Linked DNA regions of Homo sapiens: region 1 is linked to region 2. Evidence: promoter capture Hi-C in human tissues and cell types (Jung and others, 2019). All regions are on one chromosome and are shown on one strand. Each heading gives the region's core, a stretch centred on a gene start or on the middle of the fragment in contact. The rest is flanking DNA. Distances are from core to core; before and after follow the strand shown.

Evidence for each region. The method cuts DNA at HindIII sites, captures the fragments that hold promoters and counts their contacts. A contact is called where the count stands out against the background at its distance.
Region 1: a fragment that was not itself captured here is called in contact with the fragment with the promoter of IRX1 in region 2 in 3 of the 25 tissues and cell types used here (bladder, small bowel and spleen).

What each region holds. Positions count from the first base shown.
Region 1 is chr5:3,667,498-3,674,717 of GRCh38, reverse strand. No RefSeq gene overlaps it. Among named protein-coding and RNA genes, the nearest start is that of IRX1, 75 kb to the right of the region's middle. The HindIII fragment of the contact is 5,481 bases long and covers 2,135-7,220 here.
Region 2 is chr5:3,594,287-3,601,613 of GRCh38, reverse strand. IRX1 (iroquois homeobox 1) reads right to left here and starts at 5,782. Exons shown (of 4, transcript NM_024337.4): 1 at 5,233-5,782; 2 at 1,354-2,389; 3 at 933-1,005; 4 at 211-631. The coding sequence starts at 5,508. The coding sequence ends at 574. RefSeq lists enhancers at 271-931, 1,595-2,256, 2,257-2,919 and a silencer at 5,785-6,079. The HindIII fragment of the contact is 23,247 bases long and covers 1-7,327 here.

The DNA.
Region 1 (7,220 bases), core at 3,626-6,125, 74 kb before region 2:
ACCTTCCCGCTCCTGGAACAGACGTCTCCATTTTCCCTCTCCTGAATCCACTGACTGTCAGAAACCACAATTGCGGTGGCTTTATAGCCTCTCTTGTTTAGTAGCTTGTTTCATAATTTAAAAGATTAAACTTGAAAGAAAACTTGAGGTCAGGGAAGGTAAATAGTCCCTGGGACCATCCCCTCTTCCCATCTCTCACCTGGGGAATTTGGGAGGTTTGTGTTGGCAAGGATGCACCTGCACGGTATGCTGGCTGTCAGGAGCGTGGCTGGCTGGCCGCTGGCGAGGGGCCTAGTGAGCACACCGTCCACTGTCCCTCAAATCCACTCATGTGTCCTTTGACAAAGATGCTTGCTCTGGGCTTGTGGAATCCACTGGGGAACAAAATGGACAAAGATCTCTGATCCCTGCCCTCCGGGGGTTTACATTCTGGTGGTTGGGGAATGGTAGTACCATAAAAGTAAACATACAAATAAGTAAATTATCTATATGGGAAAAAATATATATATATATATTTGCTTCATATATATATATATATATATATATATATATATATATGAAGCAGAAAGTAGAGGGAGAGAGCCAGCTCTGTAGAAAGAGGGTGGTCAGGGCATGCTTACCGGAGAAGGTGGCATCCAGGAAGGAGCTGAGGGATGAGCCCTGCAGGAAGGCCGGGAGCAGCATCTGTGCAGAAGGAACCACCAGCACAAACACGCCCAGACCCAGCTGCCGGGGGTGCTGAGGAAAACATAAGGAGCAGCCGGAGCGGAGTGACTGGCAGAGAAAACGGCAGGAGGCGAGAAGTGAGCTGAGTAGAACCAAGGCTGGAGCTGTCCCTGTGACGATGTGAGCATTCTCAACAGGGAAGCCAGGACCTTGGCTGGGTTTGGTCCCATGATAAGTCAAATAAAACCTGCAGTTAAAGACCCAAGACAAACAATACATTCAATGCCGAAAGCAGTGTGCAAAAATCACAGAGCTGGATGGATAGAAGAGAGGTGTCAGTATTTGCAGGTGGTGGTAGGATTCACTGCACTTTGCTTCTCCCATCAGAGAGTTGGTGGGCTCCTTTCCTATCTATGAACAAGTGTCTGCCAGTGAAAGGTTTCCAGAGACTTCTCTGTGTGGTGATAGGGCTTGGAGGGGATCCTCGTCACTGCAGCACATTCCAAGCTCCAAGGAGCATGCCTCTTAGGCCAGCCCATGCATGCCCGTGAGAGGCTGCCCATGAGGAGGAGCTGGGAGGCCTCTGGACTGTTCAGATGACTGAAGGGAGGAGGCCGATTTGCAAAGGGGCCAAGAGTTTCCTAGAAGCCCAACGTAAAGACCTTGAGCCTTGGCCCTGAGAGTGGTGTTATCAAAAGTTTTCTGATTGATTGAGAAAGGCCTGACCAAGACTCCCTGAATTTACCCTGGAAACCCAACGGGCAGTACCCCAACTTGGAGTTCTGGGGTGGTAAGTGAGGAAACACGACTCAAGAAGCCCTTAGCAGTAAAAGGAAGAATTCCAGAGTGTATTAGTTCCTTCCCACACTGCTATAAAGAAATACCCGAGACTGGGTAATTTATAAAAGAAAGAGCTTTAATTGACTCACAGTTCTACATGGCTGGGGAGGCCTCAGGAAACTTACAATCATGGCAGAAGGCAAAGGGGAAGCAAATTTGGACCTTTCACGTGGCAGGAAAGAAAGGAAAGCACAAGCACGAGAAACACTGGATGCTTGTGAACCCCTCAGATCATGTGAGAACTCACTCACTATCACGAGAACAGTATCGGGGAACTGCCCCCATGACCCAGTCACCTCCCTCCCTCCACATGTGGGGATTACAATTCAACATGAGATTTAGGTGGGGACACAGAGCCAAACCATATCACAGACGTAAGGCGGGCCTTAGGTGGGCTTGACCCCGTGGCCACTGTGACCTCAGGGCTGTGGCTCAGTTCCTCTGGCTCTCCCGGCTCTGTGACTGCTGTGTGTTTACTTCTGCCTTGGCAGTTGTTCCCTGTGTCACAGCAGCTCCTAGGACAAGTGTCTCCACTCACATCAGGGCAGGCTTTTGGGATTCATCCTGACTGCACAGTCCTAATGTGTGAGCATAGTGCAGTGGGGCAGGGTTAACCCAGAGGGCTCAGACCAGGCAGCGCTCTCCCCTTGAGGTGGAGAAGTGCCCATCCCACCCAACCCTCCCAGCTGCCATGTCATGGGGATGGGTGATGTGGGTGAAGCAGGGACAGAAGGGCACTCACTGAGAGTCCACCTGATGGCACTGGGAGCCCAGGCTCCCTGCACACTCCAGCCATGGCCCGGTGGGCCTGCTGATCCAGGCTGTGTAGCTCGGGGGAGGCCTTGAGCACATGCCTGGGCAGCCCCTTTGCCAAACAAAACACAGAGGAAGCAGGCAGCCTTTCTTTTTGGGGTCACCATACCTCACTTGGCCCCACCAGCCCCGGGGTTATCCAGCAGTTGAGGAACCGTCTTAGGAAGGGTCTTGGCCAAACCCAATGGCATCTCCTTTATGCTGCTCAGCTCAGCACAGAAAGTATCTCCACAGGGCCTTTTCTTACCCTTGTTTCGTGTGGCTCTCTGGGGGCTTATTTGGCCCTTCCTGCCCCCTACAGCCTCTGGAGTACAAGGTCAGCACCATCACAGACAAAGCCTCGCTGAGCCTCTGCTCACCCCCAACACAGTTAAGGTCCAGGAGCGGCACAGGTCTTAGTCGAGTCCACACAAGTTTCTACTAGAGGTGTTGGGTGGACTCTGTTTATCACTCAGGGGTTCAGAGCAGCAAAGACCACACACCATGAGCAAGGAGACCCTCTTCCCTGGCTTGTAAGGAAGCCGTTCACACAGGAGAGAGCAGGGCTAAAACCCAACAAGCAATGCAGCCAAGTGGCAAGAGGAAGCCATGACGCCACTGTCTCAGTCTTTCCTTCCACCCAGGCCTGAGCCTTTTACCCCAGACTTTTCGATTATGTGAACCAAAATTTCCCTCCCCAGGGTTAGGAGGTGGGAGTCGGGCCTTTAGTCAGAGCAACCAGCAGGGCCCTGGGGCACACACACATTGAACATTCATGACTCCCCAGTACAAAGCCTGGCCACAGCACTGCCTTGCTCTCAGATATCTCCCTGCAAACACCTGCTTCTCCCATGTGACTCATCTCAGTCACCTTCCATCCTCTCTCTCCCAGCAGGGTGCATTCTCCCTGTCTGTGTCCCTCCCTACCACATCACATTACATCAGTCCACGCTGGATTGAATCAACTGGCTTGCAATTCTCCCTCCCCACTGGCCCATGGGTTCCTCTGGACACAGCTCAGAAGGCATATCTGTGCCTGAGTCAGCTTCGATTCTGCAGTCCTCAGCACAGTGCTGGCACACATTAGATGCCAAATAAATAGGTAAATCCCTAAACTAGCAACTGAGCTGCAGGCTGTGGCTCTCGGCAGCCTTATCCTCTTTACATAAAGGTACAAATTCACACTAAACAAGCAAATACTATGAAGAACATACATGGAAGACATATTCAAACTCCCTGGAAAATCACTGATTACCCAAGTCCCATGTGGAGTTTGTTCATGTATCCCAAACCCACATCAAGTCCTCTTGTAGGAATCTATTGAGAACATCCAAATATGCCTAGGATGGTGAGCAATAAGATTGTTACCATAGATTAAAGTTTTTAAATTGCACAAGAACTTTGTAAATATGTGATAACTGTATCCACATATGGGGAGGGGATAAAGTTACACTAGTAAGTAAATATTTGAAAAGATGAAGGTGCAGAACCGTGTGTAGTCTTCTGCCACTGTGCAGAAGCAATTGTGCATGGCTATGCGGACAAGAACGTATCTCTGGCGATACACAGATCCTAGCAATGTCAGTTTCCTATTAGAAAGGAAAGGTGGCTAAGCCACAGGAGAGGAAGGGAGGTGTTTTCTTTTTTAAATATCCTTTTATTTATTTGTTTGTTTTAATTATGAACCATAATATTGTATTAGGTATTCAAAAATTTTCATGTTTTAAACACGGTCAAGTCTCTGAAGGGGGATTAATATAGTTGTATTTGTTTGCAGAGAGAAGCTCACCAATGAATGAGCATTGTCTCAATCACTGCTTCTCACCTCTTTTGCTCATCTCATCCATGTGGCTTTTCAACAACAAAAGGTCACTTCAGGGAGCAAGGCCGGGAAGCTAATCAATAAAGGAATTGGACTGCTCTTGATGCTTTAACATAATATTTGTATTTTCCTTTCCTGTAAATGTAATGAAGTTATGTCCTCACAGGGAAATCTGAACTAATTCAAGGTCGTATCTGCATAACTTAAGAAAACTTGGTCTTCGAGTGGCTGGCAAGATGGCTGAATAGGAACAACTCTGGTCTGCAGCTCCCAGCCAGATCAATGCAGAAAGCGGGTGATTTCTGCATTTCCAGCTGAGGTACATGGCTCATCTCACTGGGACTGGTTAGACAGGGGGTGCAGCCCATGGAGGGCTAGCCAAAGCAGGGTGTGGTATCACCTCACCTGGGAAGTGCAAGGGGTCGGGGAACTCCCTCCCCTAGCCAAGGGAAGCCATGAGGGACTGTGCCATGACAGATGGTGCATTCTGGCGCAGATACTATGCTTTTCCCGTGGTCTTTGCAACACACAGACCAGGAGATTCCTTGGGTACCTTCACCACCAGGGCCCTGGGCTTCAAGCACAAAACTGGGCGTCCATTTGGGCAGACACCAAGCTAGCTATAGGAGTTTTTTTTGTACCCCAGTGGCACCTGGAATGCTACTGACACAGAACCATTCACTCCCCTGGAAAGGGGGCTAAAGCCAGGGAGCCAATTGTTCTAGCTCAGCTGATCCCACCCCATGGAGCCCAGCAAGCTAAGATCCACTGGCTTGAAATTCTCTCTTCCAACACAGCAGGCTGAAGTCAATCTGGGATGCCCAAGCTTAGTCAGGGGTGGGGTATCCACCATTACGAAGGCTTGAGTAGGTGGGTTTCCCCTCACAGTGTAAAGGGGAAGTTCAAACTGGGTGGAGCCCACCGCAGCTCTGCAAAGCTCCTGTAGCCAGAATGCCTCTCTAGATTCCTCCTCTCTGGGCAGGGCATCTCTGAAAGAAAGGCAAGAGCCCCAGTTAGGGGCTTATAGATAAAACTCCCATCTCCCTGGGACAGAGCACCCAGAGGAAGGGGCAGCTGTGGGCACAGCTTCAACAGACTTAAACTTTCCTGCCTGCCAGCTCTGAAGAGAGCAGTGGATCTCCCAGCACAGTGTTTGAGCTCTGATAAGAGACAGATTGCCTCCTCAAGTGGGTTCCTGACCCCCATGCCTCCTGACTGGGAGACACCTCCCAGTAGAGGTCAACAGTCACCTCATACAGGAGAGCTCTGGCTGGCATCTGGCCGGTGCCCCTCTGGGACAAAGCTTCCAGAGGAAGAAACAGAATCTTTGCTGTTCTGCAGCCTCCACTGGTGATACCCATGCAAACAGGGTCTGGACAGGACCTCCAGCAAACTCCCAGCAGACCAGCAGCAGAGGGGCTTGACTGTTAGAAGGAAAACTAACAAACAGAAAGGAATAGCATCCACATCCACAAAAAGGACATCCACGGAAAAACCCCATCCAAAGGTCACCAGCATCAAAGACCAAAGGTAGATAAATCCATGAAGATTAGAAAAAAAACAACACTAAAGGACTAAAAATTCCAAAAACCAGAATGCCTCTTCTCCTCCAAAGGATCACAACTCCTCACCAGCAAGGGGACAAAACTGGAGGGAAACTTAGTTTGATGAATTGACAGAAGTAGGCTTCAGAAGGTGGGTAATAACAAGCTCCTCTGAGATAAAGGAGCATGTTCTAACCCAATGCAAGAAAGCTAAGAACCTTGAAAAAAGGTTAGAGGAATCACTAACTAGAATAACCAGTTTAGAACATAAATGACCTGATAGAGCTGAAAAACACAGCACGAGAACATTGTAAAGCATACACAAGTATCAATAGCTGGCTTGATCAAGTGGAAGAAAGGATTTCAGACATTGAAGATCAACTTAATGATATAAAGCATGAAGAAAATATTGGAGAAAAAAAAAGGAACGAACAAAGCCTCCAAGAAATGGACTATGTGAAAAAACCAAACCTACGTTTGATTTGTGAACTTGAAAGTGATGGGGAGAATGGAACCAAGTTGGAAAACACTCTTCAGGATATCATCCAGGAGAGCTTCCCCAACCTAGCAAGACAGGCCAAGGTTCAAATTCAGGAAATACAGAGAACACCACAAAGATACTCCTCAAGAAGAGCAACCCCAAGACACACAATCATCAGATTCACCAAGGTTGAAATGAAGGAAAAAATGTTAAGGGCAGCCAGAGAGAAAGGCTGGGTTACCCACAAAGGGAAGCCCGTCAGACTAACAGCAGATCTTTCTGCAGAAACCCTACAAGCCAAAAGATAGTGGGGGCCAACGTTCAAGATTCTTAAAGAAAAGAATTTTCAACCCAGAATTTCATATCCAGCCAAACTAAGCTTCATAAGTGAAGGAGAAATAAAATCCTTTACAGACAAGCAAATGCTGAGAGATTTTGTCACCACTAGGCCTGTCTTACAAGAGCTCTAAATACGGAAAGGAAAAATCGGTACCAGCCACTGCAAAACATACCAAATTTTAAAGACCATTGACACTATGAAGAAACTGCATCAACTAGCAGGCAAAATAACCAGCTAGCATCACAATGACAGGATCAAATTCACACATAACAATATTAACCTTAAATGTAAACTGGCTAAATGCATCAATTAAAAGACAGACTGGCAAATTGGATAGAGTCAAGAACCATCGATGTGCTGTATTCAGGAGACCCATCTCACATGCAAAGACTGACATAGGCTCAAAATAAAGGGATGGAGGAAGATTAACCAAGCAAATGGAAAGCAAAAAGAAGCAAGGGTTGCAATCCTAGTCTCTGATAAAATAGACTTTAAACCAAAAAAGATCAAAGGAGACAAAGAAGGGCATTACATAATGGTAAAGGGATCAAAGCAACAAGAAGAGCTAACTATCCTAAATATATATGCACCCAATACAGGAGCACCTAGATTCATAAAGCAAGTTCTTAGAGACCTACAAAGAGACTTAGACTCCCACACAATAATAGTAGGATAATTTAACACCACAATGTCAATATTAGACAGATCAATGAGACAGAAAGTTAACAAGAATAT
Region 2 (7,327 bases), core at 4,533-7,032:
AACAGTCTCTAAAGGCCCCCATTGAGAAGCCCATCTCCCCCAGCCACAGACCCTTGGGTCCCACCCAGGGTTCCAGGATCCCTGTATCCCCCACTTCTCTCTCTCTGTCTCTGTTTCTGCCACACAGACACTCACACACACACATTCACACACAAACACACACTCACACACACGCTGGACAGGCACACAGCAGCAGGAGCGGGGAGGGGGTGTCATTTCATTTAGTTTATTAGACAAAAATATATGATTTAGACAAGTTCGCTGACGCGCTATTTACAATCTGAAACCACTCTATATACAGAAAAGGGGGGAAAGAGACACAAGCACGTGGGGGCATTTACCGAACCCGATAATCGCAGCCACTGGAGCCGCCGGCAGAGGCCTGGCCACCTGGACGCGAGCTCGGGACCGAAGAAGCCCCTTTCTGCAGAAAGCGACGGATGCGAGTCCTTGACGTCGTTGTCATATTTGTCCTTTACACCAGTCTGAAATATTTGTCTTAATTCCTCCCACATTCCCTCCCTCCCCAACTCCTCCCCCCTCCCCCCCGCAAAAGTAAAAGAAGACCCTTAATCAGGCGGACGGGAGGGCTGCTAGGATCCGCGGCGTTCCCTCCTGCGGGGCCAGAGAGCTGCATGGGAAACACAGCGAGACAAGAAGACAGGGGCACTGTGAGTGGGGGACGCAGCGCCGGGCGACGCCGGTTCCAGTAGCGGAGCCCTGGGGGCGGGGTCGACAGCCAGCGCGGCTCCCGGCTGGGGAGAAACTCCAGTCTCCTCGGCTCGCCCGGCGCCCAGGGCTGGCGGGGAGCGCTCCTTCAACTAGGACTGCGCGACCCCCACCGCCACCCAGCCAGCTCCGCCCGGGTCCCGACCACTCCTCCTCCCCCCTCCCCACCGCCTTCTCCCATAGCAAAAGCAAACAGCACTCACTTGTCGCGTACCGGCTGGAAGGGCGACTTTAACTGCTGTGCCGGCGAATCTGGCCTGGGGACGAGGTCTCTCTCTGCGAGAGATCGGAAGAGGCAGAGTTAGGACGGAGAGACGGGCGGGAGAGGTCCCAGGCCTCCTTCCCACCAACTTCTGCCGGCTGCCCAGGCAGATTCGCCGAAAAACGTCACCCCTCACCCCACCACCACCCCGTAGCAGGCCCGCCGGTAGGGCAAAGCTCTCTTGGGAGAGCCCTAGGGCCTTGTCTGGCTTTCTAAATTGAAGCAGGGATTAAGCGCAGCCCCAGGGCTCAGCGGCCACTGCCTGGTACCCTCCCGGCTCATGCTGCACCCCACGCTACCACACCTAGCCAGGCCTCTGCATTCCCAGCTAGGGGACAGGTGGACGCGGCCTGGAGCTGTACCTGGGAGCGTGGGGCTGCTGCGGACCGAGGCCTTGTCTCCATTGAGTGCCCCCGGGGCAATAGCGACCGGCGGCTGCGGTGGTGGAGGTGCAGGAAGGTGAGGGCCATGGGGCGCGGCGTGGGGAGCGCCAACGCCCAGGAAGGAGCGCATGTTGAGCAGGGAGCCCTGTGCGAGGAATGCGCTGTTGGTCCAGTTGGAGAACTTGCCGATGTGGCAGGTGTACAGTCCGTGGCTAGGCAGGAAGGCGGGGTGTTGCAGCGGCGCCCCGGCGGAGGGCCCGTGCGCGCCGGGGTGGCCCGCGGGTGGTGGTGGCGAAGCCTTGGGCGCACCGTCGGGGCTCGTGGCTGTCTCCGCCAGCGACCAGATCTTGGGCTTGCCGTGCGGCGCACCCTGCAGGCCGCCCGCTGCAGCGCCGGGGCTCAGCAGGCGCGTGCTGCCCGGCTCTGGGGCCTCCTTTGCCAGGCCCAAGGGCGAGTCCTGGGGCTTGAGAACGTCGGCTGCTGCCAGCGGCGAGCCTTGGTCCCGGGCAAGAGCAGAAGGGGCTGCGGGCGCGTGCGGAGCCTCGGCCTTGTCCTCGTCATCCTCGTTGCTCTGGTCGCCATCGTGCTCGTCGATCTTGTCAATGTCGATGCTTTCCAGGTCGATCTCCTCGTCGTCCTCGGCCTTCTCCGGGTCGCCCTCGGTGTCGCTGCCGAAGAGCGCTCCATCTTCCTGGTCCTTGCTGCGCGCTCCCCATGTCACCTTGTTCTCCTTCTTGAGGCGCCGGCGCGCGTTGGCGAACCAGGTGGAGACCTGCGTGAGGGTCATCTTGGTGATGATGGCCAGCATGATCTTCTCGCCCTTGGTGGGGTAGGGATTCTTGCGGTGCTCGTTGAGCCAGGCCTTGAGCGTGCTGGTGCTCTCGCGGGTGGCGTTCTTGGGCCGCCCGGGGTCCCCGTATTGGAACTGGCCGTAGGGGTAATAAGCCGGCGCCGTGTGGGCTGCGAAGGTGGCGGGGTGCACCCCAGGGTTGTCCTTCAGTTCATACTGCGAGCCCTGAAGCCACAGGGCAGATCCATCGAGGAGAGAGAGGAGGGAAGTGGAGAGAGAAAGGGAGAGAGAGAGAGAGACATGAGTCCCCAAGACGGGAGAGTGGGAAGCAGCCGCTTCAATGGACTCGAGGGCCTCCCAGGCGCTTTGCGGGGCTCTCCTGTGCTGGGCAGATCAGGAAGTCACCCCCAGTTCACTGCTGGGGAGAAGGGGAGCCAGGACCATGAGCTGACTTCAGGAACTGCCCTTTCACCGACAGTGGAGATCGTTTTTGCCACTCTAGAAAAGTTCCACAAACAGTGCACTCTCCAGAAGAGCACAACAGAGGCCGCGGCCCCTGCAAGTTCCCTAGGCGACCCCTGTCCCCACCACCAACCGCTGGAGAAACCTGCATTTCCAAGTTTATCTTTCACTAGCTAGAGGGAAAAACCTTTCAACTGAGCTGATAAAGCCATTTCTCCAAACGTAAAGGGCCCAGAGCCCAAGCCTCCTCTCTGCCACCCAGAGGGGGCTCAATCAAAATAAACCATCCCGGGTTTTCTACCGGTCTAAATCCGCCAGCAATTTAAAACGAAAGCACAGTCCTTTGCCTTCCAAATTAATCTGCATATAATGGTTTACCCACATTAAAAGGTCTTTAGAGGTGACAGGTAATTTAAAATTTTAATCCCGGCCATCATCGACAACAATAACAAAAACACCATTTTTTTTTTTAATACAAAAGGAAGGCTTAGCCTGTAAAATATTAACGCAAGGGCTGGGAGCCACCGGCGGCCAGGAGGGGAACCGGTTCAGTATCCTAGGCCTCTTCTCAGTTACTTCATCTCTTAAGTTTGACTTTGATCTGGAGGGAGCAAACACTAGCTGTTTGCAGGCATTTAGAGGCGCTGATTTATTTGCAATCGATATTCTTTTTATAATCAGTAGTAAAACACAGCAAGTCAAATTATCCCATCAGGTTTTTTGGTAAATAACATTTTATCTTTCTAACAACCTCATTAGGCCTCATTATTACCATAAATTGCGCAGACAGACATTCAAATACAATTTTATCTTTTGACTTCCAAACACCCAATTATAATGGCTTGGAAACCTAGGCCTAGAATCAGGGTTTGGGTTTGAGTTTACTCTCTCAGAACCAGTGGGAGAGCTGGAGAAACACACACCTTTTGGGTGGGAATAATTTTTACATATTATCCCTCTAGGTGGGAAAAACAACTCAGAACAGCAAACATCTCCCTTCCCCAGCTCTCCACAAAGGGTGCAGGTCCTCACACTGAAGCTCTCTCCCTCCCCCGCAAACACAGGCAGGGTTCCCAAATGGCACACAACTGCATTCGCAATTTCTGTAAAAAATATTCATCCTCTGAAAAAATGGTCTAGTTGCAATGTTAGCAAAGGGAGTTCCGGACTCTGAGAAAGTTGTAAAGACCAGAAGATTTCTTGGACTAATTAGTTTGGTGACTGAGGCCGCAGAGAAAACATTTCTGCGGCTAGATTTCGTTTTTGCCCAATCGTTCCAAAATGTACTTTGCGCTTTTCTAATTATTTTGGTTGTAATTGTAAAGAAGACGTTTCAGCCTCGTCTCCACTGGGAATTCTTTTTGAAAGGACACCTTGTAAATCTCTCATCGCGTCCCGGCCTCCCCGCCGCCTGAACAAAATGGGGGCTGATCTTTTTCGATAGTAAGAGACCTGAAAGGCAGCCGGGCCGCTTTCTTTCAAAACTACAAGAAAAGTTACAGGGAAACCCGCTCTTTGCTTGTGCACACTTGAGGGGCGTTTACTCCCCGCTTCTCCTGCGGGGAGCGGGGAGATATCGCGGGTGCTTGGAAATTGCTTTATCCCGCGGGCAGCGACCCAGGAGGGGGCTGCCTCCCAGGGCCCCGCGCCCGCCGCACAATTCACCAGCCGTCCGAAGTTTAAGCACCGACCTTGCAGTCAGACCAAGGAAAATGGATGATTTGGACCGGCAGACAGGCCAATGCCCCCGCGGAGAATTAAGTGTGCAGCCGCCTGCCCCGACATCTAACGCCCACTGGGACGGGAGACTAAGAGGACACCATTTGTTTTAAGCCAAGGGACACTGTTTTCTTTAATCCTCCATTATGTAACGCAGGAAGAAAAGTGCTTTTCTTTCTGTGCAAATGAAATGAAAACTTGGGCAACTTACAAAAGTAAAATCAAACACCGTTTCAGACACCAGCACATTACTGCAACTTAATTTTTGTTTAATCTCAAATTCGCACTCACGCCGTGGAGAGACCTCTCCATCCCTTTGGACCTCTATTGTTAAGATTATTTTGATTGACTCTACCAGGCTTAGAAGGGGTCTGTCTGGCAAACTCGGATACAACTATCTCGGAGCTGCTAAAGAGGGAGAAAACCAAGTTTTCCAGACTCGGTTCGAAAACTAAAGAGGCCGCGCGAGTGGAACCCGCGGCCAGGAAGGGAAGTCCTGCTACGCTACGCCGGGCCGACCTGCAGGAACCCCGTGGGCCTGCCCGGGCGCCCTGGCCGAGCCAGGCGAGTTTGCCCCCGACCTCCAGCGCGGGCACCGCTCCACGGGCCTGCTTCTGCGGCCTCTCTGAATTCACTCGCTACCCGCTCCCTGGCCCGGGCCTTCCGCTTTCCCAGGCCGAGATGGCCCAGCCGTCACCCGCCCGGCCTCCCAGCCCTCTTGCGTCCCCGGGGGCCGCGGCCTCGGCCACCGGGAACCTGCCCCCGGACCTTTCTAGTTCCTCTTCCGGACCAGGTCCACCCGTAGTCTCTCCCTCCCGGGCGACCCGCCACCCTTGCCCTGGCGCGGGTGAGACAGAGGAGAAGCGGGGGAGGCCGGGCGCACTCACCATCTGCGAGAAGAGGCTGAGATCCGCGGCGTAGGGCAGGAAGGCGCTGTAGTTGGGCGCGCCCGCGTACGGCCCCGCCGCCGCGTACATGCCCAGCACCGAGGTGACTGCAGCCGCGCCTGCCCCGCCGCCCAGCTCCGCGGCCCCCGGTCGGCCCGACGAGGCGGCGGCAGCCGCCGCAGCGGCCGCGGCCAGCACCCCCGGGCGCTCGCCGCCGTAGGCGCCCGGCCCCGCGGCGCTCAGGTACTGCGGGTAGCCCAGCTGCGGGAAGGACATGTCCGCGGACTCGGCGACCGCCGCAGCGGGCGAGTATTAAAGGCGCGGGGAGGGAGGCGGAGGCCGGCCGGAGGGGGTTGCAGGGGGCGCCGCGAGGGGTCTAGGGAGGAGCGGGCGGCCGGCCGGGCGCGCTCGGGCGGGCCGGGAGATGGAGGCCGGTCGCGGCTCCTCTGCCCGGTGCTCGCAGGCGCCCGGCTCCCGGCTGCGCCCGGATCCGCAATCGCGCGCCGACTGCGGCGGCCGCCCTCCGCTCGGCGGCGGGGCTTTCAGACACAATTTGAAGTTGATGCTTTGATTGGCATCCCCTTGAGCGCAGGCCCCGCCCCTGGCTCCCCTCCCGCCCCCTCCCTGCCTCCCGCCCGCCCTCGCCGGCCGCTCCCGCCCCTCCCGCGAGCACGTGGTGCCCCGTGCCGGCCCGGCCAGCTACTCTCGCGGTGGGCGCGCGCGTCGGGGCGGCGGGGTGTGGGCCCGGAGGCCGTGGGCTCCTTCCCGACCAGCCCCCGCAGCTGTCTGACAACCTGTCGACACGGGTTTACAGCTGTCTGACACCGGGTTTGCAGTTTCGCGGCCGAGGTGTGTCCCCTTTTTAACAAAAACAACTTGGCGCCTGCTTTTCTACTGTTTGGGCAGCGGGGAAGGGGCCGGCGGCCTGGACGCTGGTGACAGCGAGGGGGGAGCGGCCTCTCCCCCGAGTCCCGCGCGGCCGGGGCCTCCAGGGGACATCTTTGGCAGAAGTGCACCCGGACGCTCTCCGCGAGCCACTGAACCGGCGTGGCGTGACACCCCCGACTCCAGATGCGGGTTCCCGTGGGCCCCTACTGGGTAGTAACCGATCGTCTGCCAATGACCGGCCTCGCCGCCCTTGGGGAAGCGGGGAGCGGCCGAGCTCTGCGGGCTCTTTCAATTGTGCAAACTTTGAGCGAGGGCAAATCCCGCGGAGAAGTCGCCAGCTCGGGGGAAGCAGGCGCAGTCGGCGCCGCGGGTTCTCGGAGGGAGGGGTGGGGGAGACGCGGGGGGAGGGGCTTTCTCTTCACCCAGAAAGCCCCCTGGCAGCCGGAGGGAAACATCCCCCGCGCCCCCGCGAAGGGGGAAGACGGTGTGGCCTGGACGCCCGGTTTGTCCACCAGGTGTGCAGAGGCAGACAGGAAACTTGTGTGGAACGCGCGAACCCGAGTCGGCGCCGCCGCCAGACCGGCAACGGAGCGGCCTCTTGGGTCCAAGTCCCGCGTCCCTCTTCTCCCTGCGTCTCCCCTCTCCATCCTCAGCCTCGTCGGGCTACAGGACGCGGCCAGGCGCGGCGCACTTGAGATGGGCTCCGTTTCGCCGCGGCCCTGGCCGTGCGGCTCCCGGGAGAAGATGCCAAGTGCACGGGCCTCCTCGCCTCCCTGAGCCTGGGAAGGCGCTGGCAGGCCACTTCTGCGCCTCGTGGCTGGAGAGCTCCGGACGGTGCCGTGGGGAACCGGGTACCAGTCCCGGCTCCCGGGGCCACTTTGCGAACCACCTCCTACGCAGAGACGGGGCCGGGAGTTCACCCCGCTGCGGCTCTCCAGCACACCGGACTCCGCGGGAATTTCAGCAGCGCACTCTGGCGTCTTCTCGGCTTTAGGCCGGGTTGGGGCTACGGGATGAAGGCGGCCATCGGGCCAGAGTCGGCATGCTGTTCTGCTGGTGGTTTGAGCCACCCGTATCCTGGACACCGGCCAGGCGGTCCCTTCACCCCCTGCCTCGCTTCCCTCTCTTCACGGAGCCTCGAGGCCCAGGGACTTCAGCAGCATCAGGAGGGGCTCCGGTTTTCCGGGCCTGAGGACAGACACTGAGA